2 separate regions of the Homo sapiens genome follow, and region 2 is linked to region 1. Evidence: promoter capture Hi-C in 16 types of primary human blood cells and fetal thymus (Javierre and others, 2016). All regions are on one chromosome and are shown on one strand. The core of a region is centred on a gene start or on the middle of the fragment in contact, and the rest is flanking DNA. Distances in the headings are between cores, read along the strand shown. Region 1 holds the start of FAM135A (family with sequence similarity 135 member A). Region 2 overlaps SMAP1 (small ArfGAP 1).

The links. Contacts are between HindIII fragments. The CHiCAGO score rates a contact against its expected background, and 5 or more counts as called.
Region 2: a contact is called between a fragment that was not itself captured here and the fragment with the promoter of FAM135A in region 1, in 2 of 17 cell types (monocytes and activated CD4 T cells). The highest score is 5.2, in monocytes.

Annotation. Positions count from the first base shown.
Region 1 is chr6:70,411,304-70,417,903 of GRCh38, forward strand. FAM135A (family with sequence similarity 135 member A) reads left to right here and starts at 2,205. Exons shown (of 22, transcript NM_001162529.3): 1 at 2,205-2,399; 2 at 3,988-4,073. FAM135A-AS1 (FAM135A antisense RNA 1) reads right to left here and starts at 2,655. Exons shown (of 2, transcript NR_147708.1): 1 at 2,534-2,655; 2 at 1,525-1,759. RefSeq lists silencers at 2,012-2,231, 2,572-2,721. The HindIII fragment of the contact is 2,225 bases long and covers 1,235-3,459 here.
Region 2 is chr6:70,847,099-70,853,573 of GRCh38, forward strand. It overlaps SMAP1 (small ArfGAP 1), which reads left to right. Exons shown (of 11, transcript NM_001044305.3): 8 at 5,442-5,566. Among named protein-coding and RNA genes, the nearest start is that of B3GAT2, 110 kb to the right of the region's middle. The HindIII fragment of the contact is 3,251 bases long and covers 912-4,162 here.

The DNA.
Region 1 (6,600 bases), core at 955-3,454:
CCTTAACTTTCATTATATCCCTCAGTAACTAGCACAGTATTTGGCAAATATCTAATAAGCTATATATATATATATAATGGTTGAACTGATTTGACTTTTTTTGAAGGCTCACCATGATCCTTGTCAACTTCTCCAGCCTCACATCCCTAAACAGTGGCATAGAAGTCTTAGTTTTAGTTCAGCACAAAGACCAGTTTCTTACTGTACAGCTTCTGTTCAAGCAATCCTTTTCCCTTTACTCCTCCCAACCGCCACCACAAGACATCCCACTTCAACTCTCTGGAATCATTTTCTCCTGGAAGTTTTTCCTGACCCATGACCTCTTCCCAAAGTTGGATTAATGCTTCTTCTGAGCTTCAATAGCTCTCTGTGCATTTATCTCTGCACTATACACATTACATCATAGGGTAATAATGCAAACACTCCACCCAAGTTCTTTTTCATTCATGTTGGTATCTTCCAAGATTAGCACACTGCCTGGCACACAGCAGATGAGTTAACAATGTGATTTGAATAAAAAGAACGTGGAACAGGGAAAGAATCTTGGCACACTGTGTGTTTTAGGGATGCACGGACGTGGAAATGCAAATAATTGGTTGTTTACTATATTTTCCTAAGACATGGCTGGAACTAAAAAAAAAACAGAAAAAGCCTTTCCAATTTTGAGGCTAAAGTTCAAGTCACAAAACAAGCAATAAAAGCCTGTTTAGCAAGGATAGTAAAATGGTATAGGGCTATAAAAGAAGGGACAAATTAGAAATCAGGAAAGCAGGCCATTCATACAAATGCAAATAAATTGGTTCACAGGATAAGAGGACACCCAATCATGTAAAAACTGGTACAAGCCAGGCACGGTGTCTTAGGCCTGTAATCCCAGCACTTTGGAAGGCCAAGGCGGGTGGATCACCTAAGGTCAGGAGTTCGAAACCAGCCTGACCAATATGGTGAGACCACGTCTCTACTAACAATACAAAAAGTAGTCAGGCGTGGTGGTGTGCGCCTGTAGTCCCAGCTACTAGGGAGGCTGAGACAGGAGAATTGCTTGAACTCCGGAGGCAGAGGTTGCAGTGAGCCGAGATCACATTACTGCACTCCCGCCTGGGCGACGGAGCAATGCTCTGTCTCACACACACACTCGAAAAAAAAAAAAACTGGTACAAAGATATATTCAAAACCTGTCCCCTAAATGGCCTACGTTACAAGACCTCACCATTACTTTCAAATGAATGCACAAAGCTTTTCCCTTCTAATTCATTCTTATTGTGGTAAAATATACATAACAGAAAATTTACCATTTTAACCATTTTTAAGTGCACAGTTCAGTAGCATTATGTCCATTCATTGTTGTGCAACCAACACCACTATCCATCCTAGATTCATTTTTAAAACAAGAGTCGCAGCTGAAATTTTCCTTTCATTAACTCAGCTTTAGCAACATACTGAACTTTATGCACCACAAAAGTTTTTGCCAGATAAGGTTCAGAAACAGGGAAGAGTGAAATAAATCAATGATCCTTCGTGGGCTTCTGTTAACGGAATGTATTAGCGAAAGGCTTCACTTCATCAGCCCCCTCCCGCCCTTTTTGGCGTCATAAACCAAGAAACAACCAGATCAGCACCCACATCTCCCAAGATGCAAACACTGGGTCCCGAAAGGCATCTGTCCTGCCCCGGCGCAGATCCCCTGCAGCCTCCTTTCCTACTGCACAAATCGACTAGCGCAGGGACCGGGCTCTCTACCCGGGACTGCACGGAGGAGCTAAAGAGAGAAAAGGAGAAACAACATTGTGAGAAAAACGGCTAAAGTTCTCGAACTCCGTGTTTTTGCCCTCTTCTTGTTCACTACTCTTCAACCACCTCCAAGTTCCATCCCTTAAACCCACAAGCGAGCCCCTTTTCTTGACGCGCGCCTTTTATTGACGCAAACCTCCCGTTCTCGCGGGAACTTGGGAACGGGAGCCTGGTAGGGAGGACAAATCTCTCGAAATCTCAGTTGGCGCTGGAGCTGGAGGGGCAGTTGAAGCTCCTGAAGGGCGGGGCACGGAGCTTGAAGGGGCGGGGCCTAGCCTCAGAGAGGGGAGGGAAGAGGCGGGAGGAGGAGGTGAGAGAGGCCGGGGGCGGGGCCGTGCGGCCGGGGACCTGTTGATCGCAGGTATAGCCGGCTGGCCCGGGCTCCCTCGGGACTGGGGCGACTGCGCATGCTCGCTGGCCGCGCTGGGCCAGTAGCCGAGCCGCGGTGACGAACCGGCTCCGCGGTTGCGGTGTTTGCGGTTGCTGTGATGGCGATGTGAGGGGGCCCGGGGCGGGATGGTGCTGACCCGGGTCGGGCCGTCTTCTTGCAGCTGGACAACGAGCTCCTCCGTTCGACAGGCGGGGGAAGAGGCCGAGCCGGGCGAGAGGTAACCCCCTTACTGTCCCCTCTGGCTCCCCCGGCTCCCGACACCCACGACCCCTCCCTCCGTCCCTCTTGCCCAGGGGCCAGGAAGGAAGCGGCCTCCTCTTCGTCCGCCGTTCGCCCGCCGCGGCCCCTCACCCGACTGCTGGCGGTCGGAGCCTGGCCCCGGCCCCGTTGAAGGTCGGTGGGGACGGCGGTGCGGAGCGCTCTGAGGGAGGCGAGGGGCCGCGGCGCGCTGCTCTCCCGGTGCCCGCGGCCGCCCCTGCCCCTGCGCGCGTCCCTCGACCCGTTCTTCCTGAACCTCGCGCCTAGCGTGTTTGCCCTTCACCCCTGCTCCATCTTCGTCGCTCTGTCCCTCCTTTACCCGCTTTCGTGGTTCTGCTTTTTCATCCCGCGCCTCCCACGTGTCTTTTTGCCCGGGTGGTCCCTCCTTGGGAAGCAGCGTATCTCTGTGCTTCCATCCCTTGCCTGGCTCTTCCCTGTCCGGAGCTCCTTACCCTGGCCGACCAGGTTTCTCACTCTTGTTACCTCCATAATTTCTTCCTTGGTTTTATTTTCCTCTCATCCACCTCCTTTCGGTACTTCCTCCTGGTTCCCTTTTTGTTAGTTGCCGATTGTGTTTTGCTTTAGCATCGCTTTGCATTGGAGTTCATTCCATGCCCCATCTTAGCTTCGGAAACCCTCACTGCCTTCTCTTTCCTCTGGTACCCTGCTTCATCGCTTTCTGTCTAATGGCCCCTATCCTCACGTCCTTTTCCATTCTGCACCCAGTGAGTCTCTAATCTTAATTTTTTCCCCTCCAAAACTCTTCCACCCTCCCCCCCCCATTTGTATAAGTCAAGCCTCTTAACTTCATTCCATTTGTTTTACTTTTTATTAAATCTCTGAAGACTTCTTTGTGACATACCCTTCTAGTCCTTGCTGCTTTCTGCCTAAGCTAGGTATCCACTCAATGTTTCTAGTTCATCTTCCAGTTTAATAACATTTCTTCTTTCTTTACCGGTTGGTGGAAGTATCATCAAAAGAGTGACAGTAGCAACAAATCGGTTACACTTACTGATTAAAGCTTTAATTTTTAAGAATTATGTTTACCTGGCATGCCTGGGAAAGCAACTTGAGTACAGACTAAATGAAACTATAATGGGTTAAGACTTGTTAAAGGTTGACCTACAAACATACACTTAAAATTTGGAAATTTTCTTGTCCTCCATTAGGTGTAGCTGTCCAAGAACTAATCTTAAATGAAATTTAACAGAATTTCTTTTTTAAAATGTATTATTAATTTGTTTTATACATTTGCTATTGCAATTGATTGCATAATTTTCCTGAGAGTCTCTGTTCTCTAATAAATGCATACAATTTCTGCTACCTTTAGAATTAGTGTGCTTATAGGAGACATACGTGAGAAGTATTAAATTTTTTAATTGAGCAGAAGAACTTTCTAAACGGTTTTGTAATTTTTTTCCTCCATTGCATTGTGATCAAGATTTGGCTTAAATAAAACTTCTCTTTCCATAAATAATGGTATAGTATCTTATTTTGAAGGCATCTGCTGAAGCAATTATGTTTAGTGAAGTTTGTCTTTATTGTAGGGTTGAAGATCAACTGGATTATGTATTTGGTTCTGGAATCTCAAAGCAGTCCACAAACAAATTCTTCCTTATGTTGTCTGTGTCAGGTAGGAATTAAGTTTTCTGTTTCTGTTTTAAGAAGGGAAATACCAAGGCAAAAAAAAAAGTGTAGTTCCTTATTCAAAGTGATTTAAAGTAAAACTAGGAGGCTCTGGTGTCATCAAACCACACTTCTTTGAGAAGAACTAGCAATTGTGTATGGTAAGAGGTGATGCACTCATCAGCTTTTAAGATTTTTTAAAAATGATTTTTCAAATGCAAATAAAGAAACTGCTGCTTCTCAAGGAAGCTTGCACTTCCTTCAAATAAAAAGCCAGGTCTTTTTATTTTTAGGTAAACATTCATTTTAAAAAAGTAAATGCCTACAAATTCTTGCTGGTATTTTTAGTGAGTTGGTTCCTGTGCTCTTATAAATTAAATAGGGATTTGTGGTGGACAGCAGGCAGAAGACTAGAATTTCTAGTCAGAATATATGAACTCTTATGATGACTCATGACATTAGTTTGTAGAACCCACTTAACCTGTGTATCTCAGTATCTCCAGCTGTAAAGTAATTAATAGCAAAGCAAGCCCTAATCATTTAAACATGCTTAGGGCCACCGCAGACAAAAATTGCTATATAAATACTTAGTTTTTATCTCTTTAATTTTAGACTGTGTAGTAAGAGTATAATTGACTGCTTAAATCCCAAATCAAACATTTCTTTTTTAAATTTCAGACTTCTGTGAAAAGTCTAGTAGAATGCTGGTGAACTGTGGACTAGCACTCTATTAGACTTTTCTAATGTACTAGATAGATGTACCAAATAAAATGACCTGGCTTTGAAAGAAGTGCAAGCTTCCTTGAGAAGCAGCAGTTCTAATGTACTAGAGTTTTCTAATTAGTACATTAACTAATGTTCACACATTAGTTAATGTTCATACACAGTGAAACAGACACTGCAGCATTCAGTTTGTAAAACAGATATTCCTTTTGTTTGCCACGAGTTGACACTGAAAGGAAATGTAAGAGTTACACCTATATCTTTAGTTAATCCTTAATTTTCTGTTTTATATTTTTATTTTGTTTACATTAAATAAAATCTTTATTTTGTTTACATTAAATCCTTGTTGTGAGGGCTGTTTAGGGGGTAGAAAAGCCAAGGATTTCCTTTGCTTTGATTCTAGGTATTGAGGAAAAAGTGCTTTAACATTGAGTTTTTTATATGTACATGTGTGCATTTAAATAAATGGATGGAGCTGAGGGCATATAGATTTGAAGTGTTTTTTCATGAGTTGTTTGTCAGGAAGAAGGTTTAGAGATGACTAGGAATAAGGTGGGGTGTGGTGGCTCATGCCTGTAATTCTAGCACTTGGGGAGGCTGAGGCAGGAGGATCTCTTGAGGCCAGGAGTTCAAGACCAGCCTGGGCAACAGAGCGAAACCCTCTCCTAATTAAAAGAAAGAAAGAGGAATAAGAAGCAGAATGGTAATATAGAAGAAATCATTCTTAATGGACTCAGTGGTTTTTCAGAAAAGTTACAAAGCATAAGTGATTAGGCAGGTCTAGGTTTTTCAGAAGGAATAAGGTGAAACAACTCCACAGTAGGTTCACATTTTATTTTTAAAGATTGGCAGTTGTTAACAGGTACATACTTGGTTATTGATAATGTGCTAAATTTAGAAGAAATATTAGCTTCTTTTTTCCTAATAGAAATGTAAAAGTATCAGGCATATTATACCATTAAGAGACATCTCCTACTTGAGTAACTAACCCTTCAGGTAGTTCTTATTTTGATGAAAAAAATTTGATAAACTATCTCTCAACCGAGAAACCATTCTGAGAAAATTATAGCATATTTCCTTTTATGGCATTAGGTCTCTATGAGATCATACAGAATATAGAACATATTTCTAAATTATGTTATAAATATATTGATAATAGACTGGGACTTTTTTTTTTTTTTTGACAGAGTCCCACTGTATTGCCTCTACCTCCCGGATTCAAGCGATTCATGTGCCTCAGCCTCCCAAGTAGCTGGAATTACATGCCCAGGCCACCACACCTGGCTAATTTTTGTATTTTTAGTAGAGATGGGGTTTCACCATATTGGCCAGCAGGTCTCAAACTCCTGGCCTCAAGTGATTCTCCCGCCTCAGCCACCCAAAGTGCTGGGATTACAGGCATGAACTACTATGCCTGGCTGTAGTCTGGGACATTTCTGTTAAGTGTTATGAAATGTTCTTTTGCTACTGGTCTTAATTTAACCTGAACTAGAATAAGTATTCCTTTATTGAAATACCCTTGAAGTTGCCTATAGGATGCAGCTGTTTCATTCATGATTGTTTTTAGAGCAGTGTTAACTATGACACTTGCTCTTTGATGTCTTCAGATTGCCAGCAAGTCAAGGGCTTACATTGGAAATACTGCTATCTATAAATGTCTAAGCAGCAAGGTCAGCCCTTATTGGCAATAAAAAATGTAAGACTGTGGAAGCCTGTATACCCTTTACCATCTCTTTTATCTTTTGGAATTGAGAATCCCAGATTTTTAGAACAGCCTCAGGTTTACTATATTTGGTATCATCAACAGAGAA
Region 2 (6,475 bases), core at 1,287-3,786, 440 kb after region 1:
AAAATACTTTATTTACCTCATACTCATTTGGATTATTGGCGTCAGATGAATTCTGGTATAGTTACAGTTAATAGAGTCATTTGGCTCACTTCCCAAATTGAGGATTTTTAGGTGACAAGAGACTGGCCCTCATGACTTTGTCATATTTGAAATGTTACCTCTTTCTAACATCTCTCAGTGTCATGATGTGAAGTGGGCCAGTGAATGCATGCTGGGAATGCCTTCTGTTCTTGGAAGTTGTAGCACTGATTTTAACAATTTTTTTCTGCAGCTGAAAACATTTTAACCTTTTCCTGTCGGTTTCTCATATGTGGGTAGTTAAAAACATTCATCTATCAATTCAGTTCCCAAATAAGACACTAGCCTAACATCTTAAGGTAATGAAGAAAGAAAATACTTACCACAAGCTACTTAACTGTAGGTTTGATGTCTTGCCTTTAAGATGGAAATCCCATCTTCATTTTACTGCATTGTCCTAATTTCTTCTGTTTGCTCATTGCCTTTTCAAGGGGTCCTTTGTGCTTCATTATCATTCTTTATGATGTTCCCAGCTGAATTTCCTCCATTTGCCCTAGGCTTTTCTTGTACTCTGGATCTCCCATTATTTTTATTGTCCACCAGCTGTTTCTGCATACTAATTAAAGGGGGACTGCTGCCTCCTGCTGCTCCCACCATCATTCCGTAGCTGAGCAAGGTGCATGTCTACGGTGAATTCTGATTAGTTTTCACAGACATCCCCTAATCTCATAGAAGGCACTGTGTGGTCTGATGTTCTCTCTCCCCTGAAAGAGGAAGTGTGTGTGTGTGTGTTTGTGTGACTACATGTGTGTGCATGCACCAACAAGGTATAACCCATGCTGATTTAAATGTTTTTCTCACATTATGGTGATTTACACTATTTAATTTGAATAAGCTTTATGCTTTCTAAATGTTAAAGTTATTTATCTGAATAACTGTTTTCAGCATCTTGGTATTTTCTTGATTTTGTGGCCTCTGAGCTTTTATTAATCAGCAAAGACCATGTTATTAGTGGGCCCATGATCAAAAGGATGCATTTAACTCCCAATAATTTGTGAATATTCTTAGTTGACCAAGGCCTGATTATATCCCACAGTTGCTTCCAGGAGCCCAGTTTGCTCACTGATGACCATATCCACCTGAATCCCTCCCTAAAAACTGAAAAGATACTGGTGTCAGTACAGGATAGTGGAGTGGGGACATGATGAGGAAAATTTTGAGTGTGGCACCAAATGATTTTTAGACTGTTTAAGTAACTGCTTCTCAAACTTAGTACAAATAATTATAAACTATTTTAAAGTTGTTTTTTAATTTTCAGAACTTTAAGTGATTTGTTTATAATTAGGCGCAGTTGAAATTACATGGCTTTTGATGAAATGTGGTTTAAAGAGCTCTAGTCTAGATGTGAGAAGACTCTGTTCTGGTACAAATTTTGCTGCTTAAAAAGGTGAAGGACATTGAGGAAGTCTTTTCATTGCTCTGTGTCCTAGTTGGTATAACTGGAGATAATGGAGGAGATGCCCTTCTCATCTTGCATCGGGACAAAAATGATAACATGTAAACATTCTTTAAAAACATCCAGGATGAATGTGATGTTTATAATGATGGTAATGATAACGAGTCTTTAATTGTCTTTTTTAAACACTGAAAATTAAAAACACAATGACCTTCAAAATGAATTGAAGCAATCCCTTTTAAATAATGTGTTAAGCAAGCCAAATGTTGTAAGTAAAATTAGCAACTATTGAAAACCCACTGGGAACTTGTGTTTACCAATTTTGCAAGGCTGAGAAGTTTTCATTTAGGTTAAGAATTTGTTTTTTCAACAATTCTGTGAATGCATAGCTTTGATAGTAACTAGAAAAATTGATGGCTGTGAAATCCAGAACCCACCGTTAAGGGATCAATCACATGGGGAGAAGATGGAGTAGAGACAAAAGAGGGGCAGGTATGTTGCAGATGGTGAGAGCAGAGAGCAATCACCTATGCTCATCACAAGGATGCTCTGTAGAGAAAAATCTTGGTGAGGCCTGGCAGAAAGTTCCTTACCTCAGGTTTTTGGGGGGGTATGAAAAAGTCTTCCTTAATCAATTGAAAACAGTGTCAGCCTTGCCACAAAGATTGCTGTCCCTAAGCAGGTGCTTCCTCTGTCTCATTCTAAAAAGGATTCTGAAGTCCCTCAGACTTACTTTGTGAATTGACTTCATGACAGCTCCATTAACCATGGTGGCTGGTTACAGAGAGATCACAACTTTGTTGTTTGTGTGAAATGCCAGAAATTTCAAGAGGCTAATTTTAATATAGTAATAATAATAAAAAAAACACATGGAAAGAGAATATGGACTTGTTTATAGTGCAGTGGTAAAAACAGAATTCAAGTTATGTTGCAGTGAAGGGACATGAGCTGTGTAGACTTTATTTAGAGGAATGTTCTGCTTTTATGGTGAAAATCTGGAAACTACCTAAATTCTCTTGAGTCACACATTGAATAAATAAATTATTATAGGCACATGCAGTATCACAGAATGCAAATCCCCTACCTACACATACATAATTTTATATAAAGAAGACTATTTTTGTATGATCCTATATACATTGTTTTTAAACTTGTGGTAAAACACACATAAAATTTACCATTTTAAATATTTTACAATGTATAATCAGTGACATTAAGTACACTCACATTGCACAACTGTCACCACCATCTATGGTGGGTACTTTTAGTTTCTTCATTTTTGCATGGTTTGAATCTTTTACAAGAATGTGTTGCTTTTACAGTAAACATTGAATAAGATTACAATCTAAGACTTTGCTCCTGCTCTGTGACACTGGACAAGTTATTAGTCACATATGTGATACTAAAGGGGGTTAAAGGTAAAATAAGACTTCAGAAACCAAGTAATATGCTGTGTGTTGTTTTACGGATTAGAAAATGTATTGCTAGATACCAAATGTGGTTTAGATTTGAAAGTATAAGTAAATATTCTGAGAGGAGTCTAAGGTACTAAGTAGAACAGACTTAAAATTTCGGAAAGCTGTACAGTTTATAAAAGTAATAAGACATAGCATTGGTTTTTAGTGGATGCGCTTTGTGATTCTCACTAAATGCATCCTGGGCACACTGGTGTTCTGTGAACTAGACTGACATGTGCTGTGGTAAAAAGCAATTGATAGTATTTTCTCAGTTTGCCAAAAAATCAACGGGATTTTCTCATGTTAAATTTTTTTTTCCATAAATTTGTCTGATTTTGTTAACTACTACTTAATAAAGTAAAAACAACTATAACGGAAAAACTGGAAATAGTTGCTTATATTCAGCTTGTCACCGTTTTTTTTCCTTTTATTTTGGTTGCAGTTTACATTGTTTTAGAGGACATGTGCTTCTATTTGAGTTTAAATTTTATAAACATTTAAAATTTGTACATATATAAGTATATATACATTTTATATATATAATTATATTTGCAGCTAATAAAGTGCTTCCTCAATTCATGTGATAGAATGAAACATGTCTAATTGATGACGATGTTTGCCCATCTCTAACTCTGTAGCTCATGAGTTAAATCACCACTGGCTTATATGTCATTATTATTGGACTTCCTTTACTGAAGTGTAGATACAAACAAAAAAGATATTCCTTAGTTGTGTTTTTAAACCTAGAATGCCTTGTCCCTTTAAAATATCACTTTATTTCTGGCTGATATTTATAATGTACTATACATCATGTAAATGGGGTATGGAATGAACTGGAAAACAAAGTAGCGCTTTAAGGAGGTCTAACTTTAAAGTGAATATTGCCATTTGAAAGGGTTAGAAATGAAAAAAAGTATTTTCATGTATGAGTCTTAATTCTTTGATAGTTGTCTCAGTTTAAAATTCTATATATTGTAAATTATAATCTATGTACATTGTTTTATTTCTTCACCTTTTAATTGTCCATAGTACTTGATATAGATATGTATAATACATATCAATATATTTCTTTTAATGGTTGTGATAATGTGATATCACTGAAAATGACTTGAAAAATTTGCAGTTGAATAACTTTCAGATTAACCTAATTTGGGCTTTACACACTCTTTTGTAAATTAAATAGCAAAAAATATTTTATCGTGACTATGTGTTAATAATTCTTTGTAATTGAAGCTTAAACAGGGAAATAAAAGATACCAATTTCTCTAGTTGTACTTGGAAAAAGACAAGAACTCTCTAAGTTTCTGTGGATTGTGGTGGAAATATGAATGAGATGGTAGATCCTCCATTGAATTTGTCAGTATTTGAGTATCTACTTTGTGCAAGATACCCCATTCATTGTTGAAAAGGTTTTCAAAGATGACAGATTTCCCTTTGATGAGAGTATGGTCTACCAAAGAGATATCAAATGAGACTGTAAATTGTTAAGATAGAAGGTTAATTAGGCTATAACTCTCAAGAGGCTGGAGTTGTGATGCTCTGAACTGTTAACTTGGTTGTGGTTACAGAAAACTGAACCTTGTGAGATGTTCCAGTCCTGGAGTGCTGTGCATGCAAACTCGACCTATAGCACTCCACTTCATCTCCTGCCCCCAGCCCTTATAAATGTTCACTAACATAAAAAGGGGATATAAAATAAACCGGTTTTGAATTCTTGAAATTACAGTTTTAAAAACTGTTTTTTAATTTGAATTTTTAAGTAGGAAGCTCTGTCAGAGTCCCTTTCCCTGTACATTGCAGTGGCTTGGTACAGCCATCACTAAAAGTGGCTGTGCTGGAATAAATAAAGGACTTATTTTGGAGTTTTATGGATGCTTCCTGTAGAATCAGTTTAAGTATTGTATGTGTGTTTTGTTTTTTCTATCTAGTTTTCTTCCATGTTGTGACTTCAAAACATAACATTTCAGATGTTTTAGATCATCAAAACTTATTTCCATGGTAGGTAAAAATGATATTATCTCCAAAACACACACACCCTCACACATACATTTATGGAGAGGGATTATTAATAAGTGTGGTATCAAATTCCACCTTAGCCCCTTATCTCAAAAGTAGTTTTTACCTCATAAGGTTATGAGGATTAAATGAGTTGATACATGTGAAGTACCCAGAACAGTGCCTGGCATATAGGAAGCACCATAAAAATCTATGATCTTATTAAAAAAAATTAGGGTGCAAAATAATGTGAATAGTATGATACCATTGGTTAAAAAGGAGGTTTGGATATATACCTAGAAACCAGTGGATAAAGAATATTTCTGGGGGAATCAACAAAACTGGAAATGGTTTCTTTGGGAAAGGGGATCGGGGGTAGGTAGAAGGAGAACAAATGTTTTACCAACTTTTGAACTGTTCTTTTTTTTTAACCATATATCAATTTTTAAAATAATGCCATGTTTCAAGTAATTTAAGATATTCTACGTTAAGACGAGAATCTATATTCTTTTCAGATGGCCCTGCTGTGGCACCAGTGACCAACGGGAACACAACGGTGCCACCCCTGAACGATGATCTGGACATCTTTGGACCGATGATTTCTAATCCCTTACCTGCAACTGTCATGCCCCCAGCTCAGGTATGTGATAAGAATATGGTTTTATATGGTCACTGCTTATTTCCTTTTTGAAAAGTTTCAAAATTTCAATTTTGGAAGAATTGTTTCTGAGCAGTAACTGATTTAAAAGTCTCCTGTTCTTTAGGCTAGAGTTTAGCAAACTAAGCCAGCAGCTTGTTTTTGCAAATAAAGTTTTATTGGCACACAGCCACTCCCACTGGTTTAGGTACTGTATGTGGCTGCTTTCCTGCTACAAAAGCAGAGTTAAATATTAAAAACAGAGAATGTATAGCCCACAAAACCTAAAATATTCACTGTCTTTAAAGTTCTAACCCTTGCTTTAGGGAAACAACAGTATTTAGAATGAACAAGTGGAAAAACCCTGACTACCTCAACTTTCCTGAGATCAACAAGGTCACTTACTTCAGAGCTTTTAAAACTGTGGCTGTTTGTAAATATTGACTGCAGAAGTTCTAGCAAATTTAGTACTGTCTTTTTAAAATAAAGGCAAAATGAAGGTAAATTATGTTTTAAGTTAGCCTTAAAATCTACCTTGCTTTTTTTTTTAAGTGATTTTTTAAAAATCTAGAACAGTAATAATAATGATCGGGATATTTTAATAAAAGTATTAATGGTGAAGAAATTTTGAATTGCCTTCTTAACATTACATGGAATTTTTGTAATGTGAACTGTATGAACTTTCAGGAAACAAACTACTCTTAAGCATACAACATTAAGATTCTATCTTAAGTTTATACTTTACAAATAAACAAGCAGTTTGTGCAGCATAATTTTTGAGATAAAATATTTCCTTTTCCATAGAAAAACTGAGTCAAATCTGAATTGTTCTGGTAGACAGTTTTAATAAGAAAAAGTCAATGTCTTATAAGGCTAGGAACATATTTCTGTTGCACATATTTATTGTTATTA